Linked DNA regions of Homo sapiens: region 1 is linked to region 2. Evidence: promoter capture Hi-C in human tissues and cell types (Jung and others, 2019). All regions are on one chromosome and are shown on one strand. The core of a region is centred on a gene start or on the middle of the fragment in contact, and the rest is flanking DNA. Distances in the headings are between cores, read along the strand shown. Region 1 overlaps SLIT3 (slit guidance ligand 3). Region 2 holds the start of SLIT3 (slit guidance ligand 3).

Region 1 (7,157 bases), core at 2,701-5,200, 120 kb before region 2:
AGTCCCTGAAGGTCTCAGTTGGAAGCCTGACCCATGCACATCTCTTCCAGGGAAAAGAGAGCTCTCCCTGGAGGCCAGAAAACATTTACAGTAATAATTTACTGTCTCTGACACAGATCTGCCACTATCATCTCTATGGACCAAAAACACCAATTATGAGCCAAGAAGTCAAAGAGCTTCCCCCAACCATCACTGCAGCTGCCTTTCTAATCCCTAATATCTCACCATAGCATTGCCCAATAATTTGAGCTAATTTAATAGTCAATGTCTTGCACTAAAGTGAAATTATATCTGTGAGTTAATTCAGCAGCCCAAAAAGGATCTTCATTTATCTGTCTGGGATTCTCCTATAGAGAGGTTTTGTGTGTGTGTGCGTGGTACGTTAGGTGTATGTGCCTGTGCTTTTAACAAAAAGGAGTCAGAGTGGGAGACAGATATAGGAAGAAGACTATTAGAGCAATATCAGTAAAACTGATGATTTTTCATTTCTCTCTAGATTGCTACCACTGGTTTTCATCTTTAAAAAATTATTAAAGTTGGCCGGGTGCAGTGGCTCACACCTGTAATCCCAACACTTTGGGAGGCTGAGGTGGGCGGATCACGAGGTCAAGAGATCGAGACCATCCTGGCCAACATGGTGAAACCCTGTCTCTACTAAAAATACAAAAAATTAGCTGGGTGTGGTGGCGCGTACCTGTAGTCCCAGCTACTCAGGAGGCTGAGGCAGGACAATCGCATGAACCTGGGAGGTGGAGGTTGCAGTGAGCCAAGATCGTGCCACTGCCACTCCAGCCTGGCGACAGAGCGAGACTTCATCTCAAAAAAAAAAAAAAATTATTGAAGTTAGATTTATCTGAGTATCTTGATCCACAATACAGTTTCACAAATCCCAAATTGAATGAGACTGAGATAGAAGAGATTAGTCATAGGTTATCCTTGTACTCTCTTGAAAATCCAGTTTTCTTCTTTAGACAGAGCATTTTGACCTCCAAAAGTCAAGATGTTCCCTTTATCTGGAGAAACGTTGGCATGATTCAACATATATTTCAATCAAAAGCTGACTCGTTGACTAAAAATTCAAGTCCAGAGCCCCAGACACGCCAACAAGAGGCCAAACCATCAGTTCAACAGCAGGATATTCCACTTGGCCAACCGTGGGGAGAGTTTTTGGCTACGCAACAGGCAGTGCTAATCAAGGGGCGGGCGGGCCACACTTCTAAGCAGGCTTCATCACCATAAGTAGGGTGAGGAGAATTAGAAAAGGAACGATGGGAAAAAAGAAACATCATGAATAAAACATCAGAATATTATTCTAAACCATGAATCAAAAACTCAGGTCCAGCTCACCAAATTTAGGCAAGGAGCATGAAATTGACTTAAACGTCTCCATTTCTATTTGGTTTGGACAGTGCTGTGTTATCATAGCTTTGCTGTTGTTAATATTGTATCAACACTTTCATTACAGACCTCAACCTCCTGGACTTTGTAAATGAACTGCAAACCTTACAAATGGAATTTAATGTTCAAATCCAAGATACTGAGTCCATAGGAAAGCCAGAAGAAAGACAAAGTTACAGATGTTTTTGGTGATTTGAAATTATGCTAGAATTTGGGGCATCAAATTAAAATACTATTTGTCCCCTGGAGGGATTCCCAAATGTTGGTTGAAAATGAGAGATAATTAGGCTCTTTAGAAATGTTTCTGTTGATGCTGAATGTGGTTCAGGAACAAATATTTCAAGATTATTGATGTGGGTACATTTGCATCTTTCAGACAACTGAAGAATGTGTGTTTGGGTTCTGCTCACCTCAAAAGGTTGTTATTTTTCTATATACAATGCAGTATTTCCCTAATATTTAATTCCATGGATAGTTTCTAACTCCAGATAAAGAGAATGAAGAATGGTATGGGTGAAGGCTGGCTTCTGGTTCTCGTTCTTAACAAAGAGATGACTATTTGAGTACCCTTGGTGATGCCACAAAACCCTGCCTAGGCTGGCCAACCCCACCACAGGTCACAGGGTGCTGAGAGCAGCACTGATTTTGTGCAGAAAGGGCTCAGCTGTCACAGTTTCAACTCCACAGGTGGGTCCCAGCCAAGGAAGTCTGAGAAAGAGCGAGGTGGCAAGAAGCCCACACTTATACCCTCCGGGCTCAGGTTAGACATTTCTGGGTTCTATACTCAGCATCCCAACCACCAGCACATTGGAGTGACACACACAGTAGGCGTTCAACAATACTTTAGTTGTCCCTGGACACATACTTCTCTTCCTAGAAAGGGGGCAGGAATGTTAACAACAGGGAATTGACTGAGTCCCAAGTATAAGCTGGGTGTTTGTTTTATTTTTCCATTTTCCTCACTCACTACTTTCATACGTAGTAAAGAGAGTACACTGATGTATGAAGGCTTTCAGCTGTATGTGCGAGGAGGTGAGCTTGTCTTGCCATCAGCTGTTCAATGTACCACCATGGCCAAGATTTAGGAGGTTTTTCTGAAGCCCTTACACATACAACCCTTTCTCCCTACATGCCTCCTTTCTTGCAGTGAGGGATTCAGTTGGTCCCACATTTCACCATTATCTCTAATGGTCCAGTGCTGTTCAACAAAGGTTGGTCTGATTTCCTTAAAGGATGGCTTTTCTCACTCTGGTCCATGACATGACTCTAGGATGACACAAACATCTTCAGAAAACCATCTTGGAAGGCCCACCAAGTAAACCAGCAAAAGCCCTTACCTTCAAACCAAAGAAAATACTAAATCCATGAAATCACTTAAGCCACCCTTCCAAAGAGAAGGAGATTCAAAATGTTTTATGCAGCAACCTATAAGAAACTCATTTTGTGGGATGTTTCACATTCCAGACCATGGTTTATTCCCCCATATATCCCTTCCAGTAATATCAACCAGATGTGGCAAAGAAGTCTGTGCAGAATTGTAAAAATTACAAGCATATTCTGTAATTCCAAAGCATTGTAAAGTCACAGCTTGGTTTTCTTTCCTTCTTAAAAAAAATTTAAAAACAATTTCCAAGCTGGCAGAATGTACTTCTCAGTACAAGTATTGCCCGATCACTTTAGAAAACTCTTCTGCTGGCCCACAGGGCTGAAGAGACTAAAATGTAAAACCCAACTCTACCTTTGATAAATTGTAGGGAATTTAGAAAGGTCTACTTGCTAGCATGTATTTAGGTCTATAAATCTTTTTCTTTCAATGTTTCAAGTATTAATATCCTAGATCTCAGATAAGAGCACGTGCTTATATATACTCATATGCGCTTATAAGTTCAAAATACTGAACCATGAAAGCTTCATAAATTTATGATTGTTATCCCTCTCCCATTCAAGATGTGTTTCTGCATAGAAAGCACATCATAAGGTAGGGAAAAAACTCACAGGAGTAAGAGGGTGAGAAAGTCAGAGAGACCTGGGTTCATTTCTGGTGAGTGAGTGAAACTCAAGCCCAGTTTCCTCATCAGTGTAGCAAGCATAAAAACACCTTTCATGCAGGATTCTTGGGAGGACTGAAGGAGTTGGCATCAACATAAGGTACCTAGCACACATTAGGTGCTCAAAAGATGTTTGGTTCCTTCCTTCAAAATATATAAAATAACAGGGGCTATATGAGATCGATGTTTCTTAAAGTATGCCCCTAAGTGACACACAACAAAATCACCTAGGGTGCCTATTTACAAAGTCAAATCCCCCGGTCCATTCCAAATCTAATGAACCAGACTTCCCGGCTGTGTGGCCTGGGATGCAGCATTTTAACCATCCTTTCAAGATATTTGTTTCTATATGCTAAGTTTGAAAACCAACCATAGCCTAGGTCCTTGCTCTGCTGTGGTGCTAGGCCAGCACAATCACTTCGGAATATGTTAGACATGCAGATTCTTAGGTCGTGTTCCAGACTTACACAATCAGAATCCACATTTTAACAAGATCCTTAGGTGTTCAGATACATACTAAAGTTTGAGAAGCACTGGTCTAGATTGCTATTCCTAGCTCAAAAATTCTGTAATGCAAGAATCTACAAGGCAATTTAAATGTTGGCTTTGTTATCAACTCTGTGGCAAGTCCGCAGGCTTCTATGCTCAGCTGGACACATCCTATCGGAGGAGAGAGACGACACCTCCCAGGCCTTCATCCCTGGCTCTGGCTTCAGGTACTACAGAGAGAATGACACAGCAACCACCATAATCCATTCTCTGTCCACACACAGATTAAAGCAAAACCTGTCTTCAAAAGCATCACAAACTCTGGAATTGATGACATGTGCCATAAAGCAAACACAAGGCTGGCCTCACTGCAGTGTTCAGCGTTTGGGGGAACAAGGAGAAAAATCAGGAAATCGGGACTCAGTTTGCAGGGACATTTTCCATGAGCTTTGGGTGGCTGTGTCCCTGAAAAAACGTGACCCCATGTATGAGATGGTGAGGCTGGTCTTGCCGTCCCCCGGCCTCTGAAATCCATGCCAGCGCACAAGGGAGCAGGTCTCCGCATCCAGCTTCAGGCAGGGGGGCAGCCTCTGAAGCCCCACACCAGCCTGATGGATTGGTTTTTCTGTTGTGCTATTATCATTTCACCACATCAGACAATAACTCCACTGGAAATTTGGGTAGTATGGTTTTTGTTTTCTCCACTGGTTTTTCACTTTTATAGCACTGTTTCACATCAATGCAGAGTTTTATAGGGACACATTTTGCTTGTAGTTATGTTTTAAAGTTTAGTGCCGAATTGGAAGACTAAGGTGACTGCAAAGGGCTCTGTGAGTAGCAGAAAGCACTACCTAGAGGTACAGGGCTCCAGTCATTCAACAACTCTGAGCTCTTTTAGGGCTTCATAGAGATAAGGGAGCTAGCATTTACTAAATTCCTAACTAGGCGCCTGGCACTTTAGTTAGTAACTTCTCCAAAGTACAGTACAGGAATCACGGTTAGGAATGTGGGCTCTGGTGTCAGGCAAGCTTGAGTTTCAACTTTGGCTCAGCCAGTTACTGGCTCTGTGACCTTGGGCAAGCTGTCTAAATCTCTAGGCCTCTGTTTCTGTATCTCTAAAATGGGGATAATATTGTATCTACCTCTGAAATCTGAGAGGAAGTGACAGAATATAGGTGAAGCACTTTGCAGAGGACCTGCCCCTAGTAAATTCACCACACACATTTGGGAACTGATTAAGGCTGAAATGCCCCTGACCCTCCCTCCCCGAAATGCTTATGTTGAAACCCTAATCCCAATACCTCAGAATATAACCATATTGGAGATCAGGTTGTTAAAGTGGCTATCAGGTTAAAATGAGGCCATTAGGGTGGATCCCTAATCCAACATAACTGGTGTCCCCATAAGAAGAGGAGGAGACACCAGGGTTATGCTACCACAGAGGCACAACCACGTGAGGAGGCAGCAGGGAAGGTGGCTATCTGCAAGCCAAGGAGAGAGGCACCAGGAGGAACTAATCCAGCCAGCATCTTGATCTTGGACTTCTATCCTCCAGAACTGTGAGAAAATATATTTCTGTAGTTTAAGCCACTCGGTGTGTGGTATTTTGTGATGGTAGCTGAGCAAGCTATTATAGGAGCTATGATTAGCATTCCTATTGTGTAGCTAACCAACACAAGACTGAAAAAGGTGAGGTCACTTGCCCAGGGTCACCAGAAGGTGGAATTCAAACCCAGGTCTGTCTGGTTCCCAAGTTTCTGATCCTTGCTCTAATATTGGACTGCCTCAAAGAAACATGAGATAATGGTTCTGAATGCAGCTCCCAATTTGTGTGGGCTTGGAGCATGTATACGCGACACCTGTGATAAAAGCAGAAAATGGTGAATATGAAGAGGCGGCGCAGACTAGCCAAGATGAGAGTTCAGAGGAGGACTCAGCCCTGGGAAGCAAGTTCCCTGGAAGCTGGAGTCTAGCAGCCTTGAACTTTTTGGTGGGGAATCTGCTCCACCATGATACCATGATAACAGCGCCAGTGACTTGGGGCTAAGTTGGTTGGCCACATTGCATATAGTTGTCGGGTGCCTGGGGATTAACTTTCCAAGTCACTTGCAACTCCACTGCCCAAGTGAATGACAGCAGGTTTAGCCTCAGTGGCATTTTTTTTTTTTAAAGCTGTCAAATACCTCGTATAACTGAATGGAGAATAAATAAGTCCTCCATCTGGCTGTGAGTACAACTGCTTATGCAGCTATAGGTTTTTTTTTTTTTTTTTTTTTGAGACGGAGTCTCACTTTGTCAGCAGGCTGGAGTGCAGTGGCATGATCTCAGCTTACTTCAACCTCTGCCTCCTGGGTTCAAGCGATTCTCCTGCCTCAGCCTCTGAGTAGCTGGGACTACATGCACGCACCACCACACCCTGCTAATTTTTGTGTTTTTAGTAGAGACAGGGTTTCACCATGTTGGCCAGGATGGTCTCTATCTCTTGACCTCGTCATCCGCCCACCTTGGCCTTCCAAAGTGCTGGGATTACAGGTGTGAGCCACCGCGGCCGGCAGCAGCTATAAGTTTTAAACCATTACCAAATATGGAACACACTATTTGAACCTGAATCTGGGATAGGTGGGCCAAAAGGAGCCCCTTGGTCTGCTCATCCTTATAGGGCAAGGATAAACTTTTTTTCTTTTCTTTTTCTTTCTTTCTTTCTTTTTTTTTTTTTTTGAGACAGTCTCGCTCTGCCATCCAAGCTAGAGTGCCGTGGCACAATCTCGGCTAACTGCCACCTCCACCTCCTGGGATCAGTGATTTTTGTGCCTCAGTCTCCGGAATAGCTGGGATGACAGGCATGCACCACCACGCCCAGCTAATTTTTGTATTTTTAGTAGAGACGGGGTTTCACCACATTGGCCAGGCTTGTCTCAAACTCCTGGCTTCAAGTGATCAGCCCGCCTCGGCTTCCCAAAGTGTTGGGATTACAGGCGTCAGCTACCGCTCCCAGCTGCAACGATAAATTCTTAAAAAAAAAAAAAAGTTGTGAACCCATGTGTCCCTCACCACTCACCCTCCGCCCTGCCGCAAGCTCTCACATCTGGTAAAAGACAGAAGGTGTATTTTGTTTGTTTGAGATGGGGTCTCACTCTGTCGCCCAAGCTGGAGTGCAGTGGTGTGATCTCAGCTCACTGCAACCTCCGTCTCCAGGGCTCAAGCGATCCCCGCACCTCAGCC
Region 2 (7,224 bases), core at 3,681-6,180:
TTTTGAGGTTCATTATTCCTTTATTAAATACACATCTGCTGAACACCTACTGTGTGCCAGGCACTGTTCTAGACACTAGGGAGGCGGATACTTACAGTTCCCCCAGTGGACTATAACCACTAAGAAAACCACTAAGACTATACAAGAATTCTACTTTCATGAAAATGAGGCCCAGAGAGGTAATGTAATCCGTTCAGAGTTGCACAGCACCATGGAGGCTATACCGGTCCACTGGAGGCGGGTCCACTCAGCTGCTCCTTAGTCTGTCCAGGAGGGCACTGTGTTTCCCTAAAAGGCCACATCACCGTGGTTGACCCAGAGAGACCCCATGATTCACTAGCTTGTTCCTGTCCTCTAAGCTGGCCCTGAGGGCTGGACAGAGGACTTGGCTGTTGAGCATCTTGGAAAGTCTCTCACTTGACCTCAGGACCTCTGTGGTCAAGTGAGGGAAAGCCTATGACATGGTGTCAGTTTTTATTGGGCCCAACCACCGGCAAAGCTAGCCGTCATTTGGAGTGATGGAGAAAATTAAGTTACCACATTCTCACGTTTCAGCCTTTCGCCCGTTCTCCTTCGCAAACAGGAAATGTTTATTTAAATACAGCAGTCTCCAGCATGTTCCAGAGCCAAGTGAAAAACCAAAGATGTCCACTCTTGCCCCCACTCCACCGTTCAGGCCACCCCTCACTGCAGTGAGAAGTGGGCCTCTGCCTGCCTCTAGACAAGGACGGCAAGATGGGGAGAAGTGGCCCCGTGTGAGAGTTCATTTTCATCTGCCTCCTCTTTTTCCAGGCTGAGATTGTGGTTGGAGAAGAATTACATCTGTGGGCTCCTTTTGTAGTCAGAAGGGTAAGTGCAACATCTGTTTACTCTGTGCTCCATGGTAAATGTTTGGTTTCAGGCACCGCCATCCACTTCCTCTCCTCTCGTCCTCTATCTTTGCTGCACGGATAATAAATTACACTGAATTCTTCTCTGCATTTATTTAGCTTTCTTGTGGGTGTCACCTCCTCATGGAGGGGGAAAAATTGTCAGTAGTTTATAAAAGACAGAGTTTCTTTTTCTGCGTGATGTTCTGACATTATAGGGAAGATCTTGGAACACAGACCCCCCAATTCTGATTCTGGCTTAATTATGAACAATTGAGGCCCCATTCCAGGCCTGAAGCAAAGTCCAAATGGTGAGCACATTATCCCCACTCAGGTTTTCCTTAATGTCATAACACAAGGTTTCAGAAGTCAAAAACATCCAGAGAAGCAATATACACAGACACACACACACACAAATCCCTTCATCAAAGCCTTTTTGGGAGGCAGAGTACCAAGAATGGAGAACGGAGAAAATGCAGTTTCTTTGTTTTAAAACACAATTTAAACCTTTGAGATCAGAAAACTGGATTTTAGGAAGGTCCTGAGCATCTGATGACAGTGCTGACAAAACGTGCCCCATGGCAACATGAACCCTGGGAAGTTCAAAAGGCTCACCAAAGCAAGTTTCCTTCTATCTTTTGCTTACATTCTTTACATTGAAGTGCTGGTTTTCTTCTGTATTTGCAATGGTTCTATATACAGTTTCTGGAATGCAGTAGAGGTTCAAGTCATGTTTGTTCTCAAACTCCTAGGCTCAAGCGATCCTCTCACCTCAGCCTCCCAAAGTGCTGGGATAACAGGCATGAGCCACTGCGCCCGGCTTCAAGTAATGTTTGTTGAATGAATGAAGGCAGGAATAAATGAGTGATTCCTCTGAAGAAATCCTTGGCAGAGAGTAAAAATGCCAAATATCCCCCAAGAGTTTTCAGAATTGAAATGTTACATTTGAGTTGGCTGAGAGAGAGTGTGGTGCAGGACTTTGGTGGTGAAGGACTGTTGGTGGGTTGCCCTGAAACCCTGCAGTGAACCTGACCCAGCTTGCTCCTACAGACTGTCCCCCATTCCCAGGGAGGAAGGAGACTAGAATGAGATACCATCGCGGCACCCCCATGCACCCTGGCCAAAGTGGCACCAGTGACCACAACTGAGGCAGAAGAGACCAGAGACATCAAAGAAGCTCCTGCTCTGCCACTGCCTATTAACGACTGCAGCAGGGGGCCTCTGGGAATGACCAGGACTCCAGTCTCTGTCCTGTTTCTCCAGTTCTAGAGCTGATGGGTTGCCCTGAGCTGCACAGATCCCCTAAGGAAGATGACTCGGTGGCATGCTGGCATGGGTGCGGTTCCTGCAGCTCTGGAAAACTTCCTACACACCAGGAGGAGAGGGACTTACTCTTCTTGGTTTCCCAAACATGGAGCACGATTTTGAAGATGCGGAAGATGTAGTTGCGAGACCCCAAGCAGCAGACCTAACATCAAAGTGAGCTGAACATTTGCAGGGTATACCAGAAGCAGAAGCAACAGCAGCCTATTCTAAGATCCAAGCCCAGCCAGAACCCTCCCAAGACTGTCTGTTTATAGATCGTGGCCCAAACTGACCCTTGTTCCAAGGATGACCAGGAGAGTGATAACGGTTGTGGGCTTAGGAACCAGTCAGGCTTGGATCCAAACACTTCACTAGCTGCACGACCTTGAGTAAATGACAAGATGGCTTAACTGTGAAAGGGAGTAATAAGCATTGCCTATGTAACTAACAGGACTGTTGGAGTGATTCAATGAGATAATACATATACACAAATCAAGGCATGAAAAGCATTTATCAAACATTAGCTATAATTATTATTTCACTAACTCATGTGGCTAGCACTGGTGTGACGAGGAGGGGAACTTAGTTTACAAGTTATAGGTATCTAAAAATACCACTAAAACAAGTTTTTCACTCCTATGGACTAACTTAATGTCTGAATTAAGGTGTGAAAACCTGGATTCTAGCCCCTTTATTGCCGTCAACTTGCTGTGTTTTCTTGGGCAAGTCATTTTACACTTCCAAGCCTGGTTTTCGACATGTGTTAATAAAGATTCGGCTCTCACCCTTTAGGATTCTGTGGTTCAACCCAACAAAACAATCACTGCACTTGTGGAAAAACAAAAAAGTACTGAGCCAAAGGAAAAAGAGAGCACCAGGAATAAGGAAGACAGTTCTGCTGAGTCTCCACCCAGAGATGCACAAAGAAGTGGAAGAGAAGAGGAGGTGGGGTGATAGGAGGTGACTAGCAGGAATAACACACTCTAGGACAATGCTTGTCATCACTACTCTCTTCCAGCCTGAAGTCAAGAAAGCAGAGTGGAAGATCCAGGCGCCTACCCCTAAGGCACATGAGGAAGGGGAGAAGAGGGAGAGCAAGACACGGAGGGAATCTACCACACTAGAGCAAACCCTCACCCACTTCTCGGCTGGGTTCCCAGTAAGGCTTCCCACCCACTCCAGCGTTTCTCCCCCACTCCCTTACCCCACCCCAACTGCGGACTAAGAGGAGCCCACCCCGGAGTCCAAGTTTTGAATCTGGTCCGAGGATCAAAATGATAAATGTTTCCAAAACGTTGACATATGAAAAGTAAATATTTGGTTGCACAATTGGGGCTAAAACTAGGGTCAATCCACCCCATTCTCCAAGCGCCTCTCCATTCGCTGCCAAGCCCAGGATCTGAGGCTGAGTGCGGTTTGTAAGATTATAACGCTCGGTCTCATTTGAAGGGCTGTCAGCATTTCCATTCTCCGGCCCCTTCGTTCGGGGAGGCATTTATAACCGAGCCATAAAAAATTCACCCGGGGCTGCAACTTGGCATCTCCCAGACTGCGCTCCAGGCAGAGCGGGTTTTGCGAGCACCCACTCTGAATCTGTCCAGTTCCTCAGAAGTTAAACCTTCACCCACACTCTCAACTTTCCTTGCAAGGGCAGCCAGAGAGCGGCTGGCCCATTCTGATCTCCAAGCAGGTCAACAGTCTCGGGCCCTCTCTCCCGCCTCCGCGCCTTGACGGCCCATCATCCTATAGCTTTCTCCTTCGCCCGCCCCCCTTTTTAACGAGCGCAGACCCCTGACCCTCACCCTAAGACCTTGAGGCTGCAGTGCTCTTGCCTCCCCTCGCCTCTCCTCAGCTACTCCTTGGAAGCTGTCAGCGGGCCCTGCGTCTGGAACCCTCACCCCTGGAGAGGCACTGCTCTTTGCCCATCGCTGGGGGTTTCGAGACCTCTCTTTCCAGATCTGACCAAGCCTACAGACCCCCAGCTCGGAGAGTGAGGGATCGTATCCAGGAAGGGATGAGAATAGAGACTGCATCCAGGGAGGCCGAGGGGAAAGGACGGATCTGGCGCCTGGGGCCCCCTCGGTGGGACCCAGGTGGGTGGCCCGCGTGGGGTGGGGCAGGGGTACTCACAGGCGCTCAGCGTTGCGGGGGATGCCCCGAGGAACCGCGCGGAGGCCCAGCCCGTGGCAGTCCACGCTGGCAGCGGAGCAGGTACACTTGGTGGGGCAGGCGACGGCTGGAGGCCCACTCAGGACGCTCGCCAGCGCCAAGGCCAGCGCCAGGCGGGCGCGCACGGCGGCGCCGACCCCTGCCCACCCGGGGGCCATGGTGTGCAGGGCCCCGCTCCTGGAGGAGGCTGCCTCTGCGGGGCAAGACGCGTGGAGCCCGAGGAGGCGCGCGGGGAGCGCGGGCGGCCTGGGGAGCGGGCGGCGGAGTTAGCGCGGAGGAGGGGCGAGCTCGGTGCTCAGGCGCACGGGGCGCGGGCGGAGCGGGGCGCTCCGGGCGGCGGCGGCGGCAGCAACAGCAGCTCCATCGGCGGGGCCGGCGCTGCCCCGCTGCGCATCGCTGGGAGTGCCCAGGTGCGGAGCGCCCCCTGGCCCCGCTGGCCCGCGGGCCGGGTTGGGGACCTGGGGCGAGCGCAATGGGGCGTGGCGCCCGGGGAGGTCCGGCTTGGGGCTGGGCTGGGGAGCGCGGCGGCTGCGGCTGGGGCACGGGGCGGCCGGGTGAGCTGGCCGGCGCTCGCTCTCTCCATTCAGTGAGCACGGCAGACACCGGAGACGCGGGGCCCACCCCTCCGGCCCCCCCCCGACCAAGAAACGCCAACTCCGCCTCCCATTGGCTGCGCCGCGCGTCATGTCGACTAAGTTGGGAACTTTGCTGGAGCGACCGAGAGCCTGGAGGGAGGAGGCAGTAGAGGAGGGAGAGAGAAGGAACCAGGGAAGGAAAGGGGCTCGGCCAGCAGGGCCCCTGGAAAGAAACACTGAAACTCATTCACTGTTAAGATCCAAGGACGGATAAGGCTCCTGACACTTTTTTTTTTTTAATTTTTGCACTGAGCTGAGCACTCTACTCATATTCTTTACTTAAGTCCACGATCTTCCAAGGGGTCGTCTGAAAACAGCTCAGAGAAGTGAAGCGACTTGCTGGAGGTCGCACAGCTGCTAGGGACGCCAAACCATGGCAGTGTCGCCCACGAAGCCGCTTCCCTACCGCACCTAGTACTCATGGCAGAGATCCACAATTTTGCCTGAAGAGCCTTGGTTGACACCAATGTACTCCACAGCTACACACACACACACACCGTGGTCCATGTTGTTGAGGTCACTGCTGGCAAACCTTACCCGGAAACTTGCCCTGCTTTGCCCAGACCCAGCGCTTGGTGGACTGGTAAAAGTAGTGATGGCAGCGACTTGGACCCCTGGATTGACAATGCCTTGTTCCATCCTCGGGTTTCTGCTTCCTGACTGGGTGACTCTGGGCCAATCGTGTCATCTCTGAGCCTTCGTTTTCTCAAATCCGGGGCCACAGTCCTACCTGGCCTCACCTCCCTGGGTTGTTTGGAGCATCACAGAAGAGAACGTGTTTTTGCAAAAGTCATTCGCAGACGAGGCATCCCTTCTGTCCCCAGCGCCTTCTTTCTTCCAGCGCCCGCTTTAAATTGGCTAGGTCTGAGCTTTTCCAGATGCCAGTGGGGAGGGGCGTGTGCGTTAGAGGCTCCATAAATACTTGTAGGAATGATTTTGTTTGTTTGTTTGAAAGGAAAGGGCAGGAACTGGAGGAAGTATTGCCCAGATTTCCTTGAGGTCCCCTCACACTGAGAAGGCCTGAATGAGCCCTGCATATATATACACACACACTGGTGCCTACGTATTCACAGCCACGCACACACTCTCACATACTCAGGCTCACACACACCCATTTATACACCGGCAATCACACACACGTGTACATGCATGCTCGCACACACACTCACATAGTGACAACTATACTCCTGAGAGCGCTTCTCTTTTCTTTCATAAGAATACTATTCTGATTTCTTCTACCTCATTTTCCTTCAAGGAAACTTTCAACTACTTGACCACATCCTGTGAATATATAGTAGAGTTGTAGATTTTATTGTATTATACTTAGCAGATTTTCAAAGTCTTAGCTTTGGGCACCCACTTGCGCGCGCGTACACACAAACACACACATACGCACACTCACTCAAACACACACACTCGAGTCCCTTCATCATTCATAAACACATTAGGTGCAATTTACTGCTGTTATTCTTGGGAACGGCTTTCTGTACAGATGCTGTTGTTATCGCCCCCTGGTGGCTGGCGAGGGTCTATGCTCCGGTCTTCAGGGTGACTTCGGTATTTAAGAACTCTAAACATCCTTTTATCCCTTTGCTCTGAAGCTTTCCTCCAAACCTTGAACCAATTTAGTACCAGGACTGAGGCAGATGAGAGAACCGGGCAAGGGCCCAAGGGCACAAAGCGTCTCAGACTGTCTGGAGCAGAAAACAGTACGGTTTTCTTTGTTTTCCCAAATGCATGCTAGAGCATGTTTTGCAATCCCTTCGGGCTGGTCCTGGATCTGTGCTCTGAGCGCAGTGGGGGACTGCGTTTTCCATTTAAGCTGCTCAGGGGGGTTTCATGAGCCAGACTGTATCTTTAAGGGACTTTATAGGCATTCAAGTGTGACTTTTCCTGGGAGAAGCCCCTTAGAACAGATGGTGAGGATTTCCTTCAGAGTCAATCATCCCCAAGGAGGAGGCAAGTGGGAAATACAGGAGGGGCCCAGAACACCAGGATACACAGAATCATGGAGTGTTTGGGCTGGTACAGCCTTAGAAATCACCTAATCCAACATTTCTACAAGTGCCTTCTGATGACTACTGATTCCACATGTTTCATCATGGAGGAGAAAAAAGTCTCCTTGGGCAAAGACAGATTGAGAAATGCTACTCACCTTCACCCCTCTTGGAGAATTGCATCACAGATGAGTGTTTTTAAGTTCCTGAGAAGTCCTGCAGTAAGGAAACCTGTTTAAGGCTTATTTA

The links. The method cuts DNA at HindIII sites, captures the fragments that hold promoters and counts their contacts. A contact is called where the count stands out against the background at its distance.
Region 1: a fragment that was not itself captured here is called in contact with the fragment with the promoter of SLIT3 in region 2 in 3 of the 25 tissues and cell types used here (liver, mesendoderm cells and thymus).

What each region holds. Positions count from the first base shown.
Region 1 is chr5:169,180,922-169,188,078 of GRCh38, forward strand. All of the region lies in intron 4 of SLIT3 (slit guidance ligand 3), which reads right to left. Among named protein-coding and RNA genes, the nearest start is that of MIR585, 79 kb to the right of the region's middle. The HindIII fragment of the contact is 5,564 bases long and covers 1,169-6,732 here.
Region 2 is chr5:169,296,209-169,303,432 of GRCh38, forward strand. It overlaps SLIT3 (slit guidance ligand 3), which reads right to left and starts at 4,931. Exons shown (of 36, transcript NM_003062.4): 1 at 4,305-4,931. The coding sequence starts at 4,501. The HindIII fragment of the contact is 12,348 bases long and covers 1-7,224 here.